Linked DNA regions of Homo sapiens: all the other regions are linked to region 3. Evidence: promoter capture Hi-C in 16 types of primary human blood cells and fetal thymus (Javierre and others, 2016). All regions are on one chromosome and are shown on one strand. The core of a region is centred on a gene start or on the middle of the fragment in contact, and the rest is flanking DNA. Distances in the headings are between cores, read along the strand shown.

The links. The method cuts DNA at HindIII sites, captures the fragments that hold promoters and counts their contacts. A CHiCAGO score of 5 or more calls a contact.
Region 1: a fragment that was not itself captured here is called in contact with the fragment with the promoter of SMCO1 in region 3 in 3 of 17 cell types (M2 macrophages, M0 macrophages and M1 macrophages); the score reaches 7.7 in M2 macrophages.
Region 2: a contact is called between a fragment that was not itself captured here and the fragment with the promoter of SMCO1 in region 3, in 6 of 17 cell types (M2 macrophages, M1 macrophages, M0 macrophages and 3 more). The highest score is 8.2, in M2 macrophages.

Annotation. Positions count from the first base shown.
Region 1 is chr3:196,330,764-196,333,935 of GRCh38, forward strand. The region is part of intron 1 of TM4SF19 (transmembrane 4 L six family member 19); the gene reads right to left. All of the region lies in intron 1 of TM4SF19-DYNLT2B (TM4SF19-DYNLT2B readthrough (NMD candidate)), which reads right to left. Among named protein-coding and RNA genes, the nearest start is that of TM4SF19, 6.0 kb to the right of the region's middle. The HindIII fragment of the contact is 2,800 bases long and covers 1-2,767 here.
Region 2 is chr3:196,292,825-196,295,817 of GRCh38, forward strand. All of the region lies in intron 4 of DYNLT2B (dynein light chain Tctex-type 2B), which reads right to left. Among named protein-coding and RNA genes, the nearest start is that of PCYT1A, 6.6 kb to the left of the region's middle. RefSeq lists an enhancer at 1-12. The HindIII fragment of the contact is 7,362 bases long and covers 1-2,993 here.
Region 3 is chr3:196,514,096-196,516,801 of GRCh38, forward strand. It overlaps SMCO1 (single-pass membrane protein with coiled-coil domains 1), which reads right to left and starts at 1,251. Exons shown (of 3, transcript NM_001077657.3): 1 at 1,065-1,251. The coding sequence starts at 1,114. The HindIII fragment of the contact is 1,040 bases long and covers 233-1,272 here.

The sequences.
Region 1 (3,172 bases), core at 118-2,617, 180 kb before region 3:
AGATTCTGGTGGTGAATACATAACTGTACATATTGACAAAACTCATTAAACTTTGCACTTAAAATAGGTGAATTTTATTGAATTTTAACTATATATCAATAAAGCTAATTACAATTAAAATGTCATATCTAGATAAATTATAAAATGCCTCTTCCACTCCTTATGTTCCTCTCTTTTATATTTTCATTGATATGTGAACTTCTTGTTTTTTAGAAAAATATGAATTAAGGCCGGGCACGGTGACTTACACCTGTAATCCCAGCACTTTGGGAGGCCAAGGCAGGTGGATCGCCTGATGTCAGGAGTTTGAGATAAGCCTGGTCAACATGGTGAAACCGTGTCTCTATTAAAAAATACAAAAAAATTGCTGGACGTGGTGGCAGGCACCTGTAATCCCAGCTACTCGGGTGGCTGAGGCAGCAGAATCGCTTGAGCCCAGGAGGCAGAAGTTGCAGTGAGCAGAGATCGTGCCATTGCACTCCAGCCCAGGAAACAAGAGTGAAGCTCTATCTAAAAAAAAAATATATATATATACATATATATATGAATTAAAATAGGACTAGTAATATTTGGGCAGACTCATGTCAATGTGGATCTGAAAAAAGTCAGCGTCATGACATCCCCAGGAAGTGGCCTGTTCCCACTGTGCAGTTCAGTTACACGTCTGTCTCCCCTTAAGGCTCGCTATTTATTTATTTATTTAATTTATTTATTTATTTTTTATTGAAAAAAATTTATTTTTAGCCGGGTGCAGTGGCTCACGCCTGTAATCCCAGCACTTTGGGAGGCCAAAGCCGGCAGATCACCTGAGGTCAGGAGTTCAAGACCAGCCTGGCCATCATGACGAAACCCCATCTCTACTAAAAATACAAAACTAGCCGGGCGTGGTGGCGCATGCCTGTAATCCCAGCTACTCGGAAGGCTGAGGCAGGAGAATCACTTGAACCCGGGAGGTGGAGGTTGCAGTGAGCCGAGATTACGCCACTGCACTCCAGCCTGGACAACAAGAGTGAAACTCCGTCTCAGAAGAAAAAAAAATGTAATAGAGGTGAGGTCTCCTTATGTGGCCCAGGCTGGTCTCAAACTCCTTGGCTCAAGGGCCCTCCCACTTCAGACACCTAAAGTGCTAGGATGACAGGCGTGAGCCACTGCACTTGGCCACTTGAGGCTCTTGACACGCCTATAACACACTGCTTTGCACCTAATCAGAAAATATGTGTATAGAGGCCAGGCACGGTGGCTCACGCCTGTAACCCCAGCACTTTGGGAGGCTGAGGTGGGTGGATCACGAGGTCAGGAGTTTCCGACCAACCTGGCCAACATGGTGAAACCCCGTCTCTACTAAAAATACAAAAAAATTAGCTGGGCATGGTGGCGGGTGCCTGTGGTCCCAGCTACTCGGGAGGCTGAGGCAGTAGAATGGCGTGAACCTGGGGGGCTGAGATCACGCCAGTGCACTCCAGCCTGGGCAAGAGAGTGAGATTCGGTCTCAAAAAAAAAAAATTAACTGCGTGGTGGTGTGCGCCTGTAATCCAAGCTACTCAGGAGCTTGAGGCAGGAGAATCGCTTGAGCCCGAGAGGCAGAGGTGGCAGTGAGCCCAGATCACGCCACTGCACTCCAGCCTGGGTGACAGAGCAAAAGAGAGAGAGAGAGAGGAGGGAGAGAGGGAGGGAGGGAGGGAGGAAGGAAGAAAGGAAAGGAAGGAAGGAAAGAGGAAGGGGAAGGGGAAGGGAAGAAAAAAAATATATATATATATAAAAGATATGGATCAGAGGCTCTATATATATGCACACACACATATATATCATATACATATAATGTATAATGTGCGTATATATGTGTGTACGTACACACACACACACACACAATAGTCCCCCATATCTGCAGGGGATATGTTCCAAGAGCTCCAGCGGATACCTGAAACCACAGATCATACCAAACTCTGTATATTCAGATGCTTCTCCACTTATGATGGGGTCGAACTCCTATAAACCCGTTGTAAGTCAAAATATCCTAAGTTCAAAAGGCATTTAATGCTGGCAACACAGTAGACTGTCCCTGACTCACAATGGTTCAACTTACAATTTTTTTTTTTTTTTTTTTTTTGAGACAGGGTCTTGCTCTGTCACCCAGGCTGGAGTGCAGTAGCACAATCATTGTTCACTGCAGCCCTGATCTGGGCTCAAGTGATCCTCCCACCTCAGTCTCTCGGATAGCTGAGACCGCAGGCATGCGCCACCATACCTGGCTAATGTTTTAGTTCTATAGAGACAGGGTCTCACTATGTTGCCCAAGCTGATCTCAAACTCCTGGCCTCAAGTGATCCTCTCACCTCCACCTCCCAAAATGTTGGGATTACAGGCGTAAGCCACCACGCCCAGTCCCAATTTACTTTTGACTTTGTGATGGTGCAAAAGCAATGAGTATTCAGTAGAAACCGTAATCCCATCATAAAGGGTAAGGAGTTCACTGATGATGGAGTTAGGTCCCTAGAAACCTGTCGTAAAGTTGGAAACTTAGAAGTCAAACCACTATAAGTAGAGGACTGTCTGTACTATGCTTTTTCCTATACATACATATCTGTAATAAAGTTTAATTTATAAATCAGGCATAGTAAGAAGTTCGCAACAATAATAATAAAATAGAACAGTTATAACAACATACTGTAATGAAAGTTATGTGAATGTGGTCTTTCTCATTGAAAATATTTTATGTAAGTTTTTTGAACTGCAGTTGACCACAGATAGCTAAAACTTTGGAAAGCAAAGCTTCAGTTAAGGGGGGATTACTTTACATCACACATAAATAATGAAATATTTCACAGCATGAAGAATTAAACATTGGGGGAGGGCCAGGGCTGAAAAACTATCTGTAGGTACCGCGCTCACTACCTGAGTGACGGGAATCACTCATACCCTAACCTCAACATCACACAATAGACACGGAACAAGCCTGTATATGTATCCCCGGATCTAAAATAAAAGTTGAAATTATATTTTTAAAATTTGCATTAAAGGCCAGGTGCAGTAGTTCACGCCTATAATCCCAGCACTGTGGGAGGCCGAGGCGGGTGGATCACTTGAGGTCAGGAGTTCAAGACAGCCTGGCCAACCTGGCGAAACCTCATCTCTACTAAAAATACAAAACTTAGCTGGGAATGGTGGTGTGCGC
Region 2 (2,993 bases), core at 23-2,522, 220 kb before region 3:
CTCTACTAATGTTTCCTGGAATCTCCCAAATAAAGTGCTTTTTTTTTGAGACAGAGTCTTGCCCTCTCGCCCAGGCTGGAGTGCAGTGGCACAATCTTGGCTCACTGCAACCTCCGCCCTCTGGGTTCAAGCAATTCTCCTGCCTCAGCCTCCCAAGTAGCTGGGACTACAGGCGCCCGCCACCTTGCCCGGCTAGTTTTTGTATTTTTAGTAGAGATGGGGTTTCACCATGTTGGCCAGGCTGGTCTTGAACTCCTGACCTCAGGTGATCCACCCGCCTCGGCCTCCCAGAGTGCTGGGATTACAGGCGTGAGCCACCACACCCAGCCTAAAGTTTTTTATTACATATTTGTTCATTTGAGTATTGAGTGGCCCCCACTGGATGTTAATAGGCAGAAACCATGCCTGTCTTATTCATCATTTTGTCCCTAGCCCCTCAGGTGCAGAAGCTGACACATAATAGGAGCTCAGAACTATTTGTTGAATGAATGAATTGTATCATCTAAAGATGCATTTTTTGGCCAGGCCCAGTGGCTCATGCCTGTAATCCCAGCACTTTGGGAGGCCAAAGCAGGCAGATCACCTGAGGTCAGGAGTTGGAGACCAGCCTGACCAAATAGTGAAACCTTGTCTCTACTAAAAAATACAAAAATTAGCCGAGCGTGGTGGCATGCACCTGTAGTCCCAGCTACTCGGGAGGCTGGGGCAGGAGAATTACTTGAACCTGGGAGGCAGAGGTTGCAGTGAGCCGTGATGGCACCACCACTCTCCAGCCTAGGTGACAGAGTGAGACTCCGTCTCAAAACAAACAAACAAGATGCATTTTTTTTTTTTTTTTTGAGACAGAGTCTCGCTCTGTCTCCAGGCTGGAGTACAGTGGCACAATCTCGCCTCACTGCAACCTCTGCCTCCCAGGTTCAAGCAATTCTCCTGCCTCAGCCTCCCGAGTAGCTGGGATTACAGGCACCCAACACCACACCTGGCTAATTTTTGTATTTTTAGTAGAGACGGGGTTTCAGCATGTTGGCCAGGATGGTCTCAATCTCTTGACCTCATGATCCGCCCGCCTCGGCCTCCCAGAGTGCTGGGATTACAGGCATGAGCCACCGTGCCTGGCAAAAAAAACCATCTTCTTAGCTTGACTATTCCCCCAAAGATAGCTGATAAATTAAGATTTACATAGTACTTCCCACTGTCCAGCCCCTGATCCCTAGGGTAGTTAAGCATAAAATAAAACTTTGGTGGGGCTGGGCGCAGTGGCTCACGCCTATAATCCCAGAACTCTGGGAGGCCGAGGCGGGCCGATCACCTGAGGTCGGGAGCTCCAGACCAACCTAACCGACATGGAGAAACCCTGTCTCTACTAAAATTACAAAATTAGCCAGGTGTGGTGGTGCATGCCTGTAATCCCAGCTACTCGGAAGGCTGAGGCAGGACACTTCAACCCGGGAGGTGGAGGTTGTGGTGAGCTGAGATTGTGCCATTGCACTCCATCCTGGGCAACAAGAGCAAAATTCTGTCTCAAAAAATAATAAAAATAAAAATAAAACCTTGGTGAGACCATAGAATTTTAGAGCTAAAAGCTACCTTAAAATCATCTACATAAGCAGTGTCCATATCTGGCAGTCAGCAGAATCATGGGGAACTTTTTAAATATTCTGATTCACTGATCTAACCCCTGGCCTATTTGATCAGAATCTATTTGAATAGGGACCCAGCGTCTATATTTTAAACAACTTCCCAGATGATCCTTAGGCAGTCACAGCCAGTCTTTGGGAAAATGTACTTCAGCTTCCTAATGTCACTGATACAATGTGAGAAAAATCCAATGACTTACCTGAAGTCATTCAATTAGAAAGTGACAGAACTGGAGATGGAATCCCCCTCTTATTTCTTTTTACTTTTTTCTTTTTTCTTTTTTTAATTTTTGAGACAGAGTCTTGCTCTGCTGCCCAGGCTGGAATGCAGTGGTGCGATCTCAGCTCACTGGAACCTCCGCCACCAGGTTCAAGCAATTCTCCTGCCTCAGCCTCCCAAGTAGCTGGGATTACAGGCGTGCACCACCACACCCGGCTAATTTTTTGTGTGTGTGTTTTTAGCAGAGAAGAGGTTTCACAATGTTGGCCAGGCTGCTCTCAAACTCTTGACCTCAAGTGATCCACATGCCTCGGCCTCCCAAAGTGCTGAGATTACAAGCGTGAGCCACCCCACCTGGCCTCACTCTCTTAATTTACTCAATCTAGTTTCTGTTCTACTCTAACTCTGACTCTATGTATTCACAACCTGGGAGTAGACGAATAGAGGATGCAATCCTTTCTGGAGTAAATATAAAATAATAACTTCAATGAAACCTCTTTTATGTGTGTGTGTGTGTCACCCAGGCTGGAATACAGTGGCACAATCTCAGCTCACTGCAACCTCTGCCTCCGGGGTTCAAGCGATTCTCCTGCCTCAGCCTCCTGAGTAGCTGGGATTACAGGTGCCCGCCACCATGCTCGGCTAATTTTTATATTTTTAGTAGAGACAGGCTTTCACCATGTTGGCCAGGCTGGTCTTGAACTCCTGACCTCAGGTGATCCGCCCTCCTTGGCCTCCCAAAGTGCTGGGATTATAGGCATGAGCCACCGCGCCTGGCCTGAAACATCTTTTTAAAGATTCCTCTTTATTTTTGCTTAATTTTAATAAATGGCTTTAAGATAAAGTAATAAATTTTACTACTAAAAAAAAATGACCTTTGCTCATGGAATCCCTGCCATCCACATTTGTTTGCAACTTAGCAAAGTGTGATTGGTTCAAATGAACAAATAAGTGATTTTAAAATTTTAGTTATAAATTATTACTTTAATAAGGATTATCAGGATTGAGTTTTAGAACACTGATTTATGGAGGAAGTGGCTAAAAATAATGTTTAAATAATATGCTAACTAAATAATATGCTATTCAGAAATTCAAACCCATGAAAAATTATGTCATATGTAAACATGTAAGTTTCC
Region 3 (2,706 bases), core at 1-2,500:
TCCAGACACATTCTTCTAAAACACAATTCCGATTCTGTGACTCAACTGATTACAAATGGTTTATGTCATCCTGGCTTGCCCAGTGATATACTCAGAGGCAAACTGGATCTCCTCAGCAGGAAAGTCAAGGGCCTTCACCCTTTGCTCCTGTCTTCCACCAGTCCCCTCACCCATCCTAGTTACCAATTACACGAGACATCTAGTTGCTGCTTGAATACATTATGTGGTTCCAAGCTTACATATGGCTTATATGCACTGTTTCCTCAGCCTAGAATGCCTTCCCATATTTTTCTCCCTCATAAGCTCCTACTTGCACTTTAAGATCCAGCTTAAATGACCCTATATGAAGAGTTCCTTTTTCTAGTGTCAAAGGCAAAATTGGTTGATCCTCCCTTCATGTTCGCATAGACCTTTAGGAACATCACCATTGTAAGGTCAGTCACATTAAATTGTAAATGTTTTTCAAACTTTTCTCTTTCCTACAGGCTGTGAGCTCCTTGAGGGCAGAAACCACATTTTACTTATTTTTGTAAATCTAGGATTTAGCATATGCATACATTCAATGGAGTTACAGCACCTGGGAGCAGACTTTTCTTTATTGTTAATTTACATAGGTTTGGGCCTGGAAGACTTAAACCACTGTAATAGAGACGGAATTCTTTTTTTGGACGGAGTCTTGCTCTGTTGCCAGGCTGGAGTGCAGTGGCACGATCTCGGCTCACTGCAACCTCCACCTCCCGGGTTCAAGTGATTCTCCTGCCTCAGCCTCCCAAGTAGCTGGGACTACAGGCGCCCGCCACCATGCCTGGGTAATTTTTGTATTTTTAGTAGAGGCAGGGTTTCACCATGTTCGCCAGGCTGGTCTCAATCTCTTGACCCTGTGATCCGCCCACCTCGGCCTCCCAGTGTGCTGGGATTACAGGTGTGAGCCACCGCACCGGCCACAGAGACAGAATTCTAATGAGCATGTCTGCAGTTCTTTATTTCTATTCTTCATTCTTCTCTTACCCATCTTCCCAGAATAGCAGACCCATGCTTGCTCCCTCCCTATAGCCCTCAGCAACCTTTTCATTGCCTCCTTCAAGGATATCAGGGTTGTGGTTTCATTGTTCATCTTCTGAAGGCAAAAGGAAAGAAAACAAAAACAAAGCAAAACAAAAAAAGCAATAAATGTTTGAATCCAGAATTTTCTGCGGTCTTCCTCTCAGCAACAGGCAGCAGTAGCAGGAGCGCTCAGTCTACATTCTGCCTGAAAGGTCACTCAGTACAAGAAGCTTTTAATAGCCTGCAGATCCAAATATAGTTTCAAAGAACTTATCTCGTGGACACAGGTGTCCTGGAATGCACTATAACATTTGCCTTTGAAAACTGAACCATAGTACATTAACATACAGCAACAACCATGTATAATTAATGACTGTGTACATTATGGTAAATGTATATACAGATACATTAACGTAACGTATAGGATTAAGTTTGATGGAAATATTACTGTCATATTTTAACTGCTTCATTATTCAATTACAACCTAAATTAGGTTTGAAGAGTGCCCCAGATCTTTTATGATGATGATATCAAAGCAAAAAATCTAACTATCATTAGAAACTACTAAATACTTGTTATGGCTGGGTATGGTGGCTCACTCCTGTAATCCCAGCACTTGGGGAAGCCAAGGTGGGAGGATTGCTTGAGCCCAGGAATTCAAGACCAGCCTGGGCCACAGAGCGAGACTGTCTCCACAAAAAATACAAAAATTAGCCAGGAGTGGTGGTGCATGCCTGTAGTCCCAGCTACTCAAGAGGCTGAAGTGGGAGGACTGCTTGAGCCCAGGAGTTCGAAGCTGCAGTGAGCTATGATCATGCCACTGCACTCCAGCCCGGGCAAGAGGATAGGATATATATATATATATATATATATATATATATATATATATATAATTATATATAAAATTATACATATAATTATATATAATATATAATTTATATCGTATATAAAATATATATATAATTTTATATAATTATATATATATTAGATTAGGAATTGAATATAAATGTGGAAATAAAATAGGACTGCTGTTTTCATGAGATTTAAAATCTAGTTGGGAAGAAAGAATATATCCTTAAATAGAAAATGTATATGGGATGTGTGCTAAGTAGATAGAGACCATAAAAATAATAGAAGGTGAGAGACTAAGTCACTGAAATCTTGGGTCCTTGGGGAGATATTCACCCTGAAGGTGGTACTTGGCTTGGCCTTAAAGGTCAAGGTCTTTGATTATCAGAGAAGAGTGTTAAGGGTGTTACGAACTGGAGAAATTGTGTGAGCAAAATCACAGAGGTGGCAAAGTAAATGATGTGTTCAGGAAACAATGAGTAGGTATGTTTTGAGCAAAAGATTCATATAAGAAAAAGAAAATAACCACACCATTTAAACTGGTAAGAGCCATGTCACGTATTTGTTCTTTCACTGAATACTTTATTCACTTATTCAATATTTACTGAGCATCATAGATATTAATTGAATGTATAAAACCTACGAATGGATGAGCAGCACTATTCCAGGCACTGGTAATATAGTGATAAGTAAGGCGAAATCCTTGTCCTCAAGGAACATACTAGCAGGGAGACAGCACATAAGGCTTATAAGAGAGGGGATGCTTCTAGCTAGCTTGGTAAGGAGTTTGGACAGATGTGAGCTGTTGGTTCT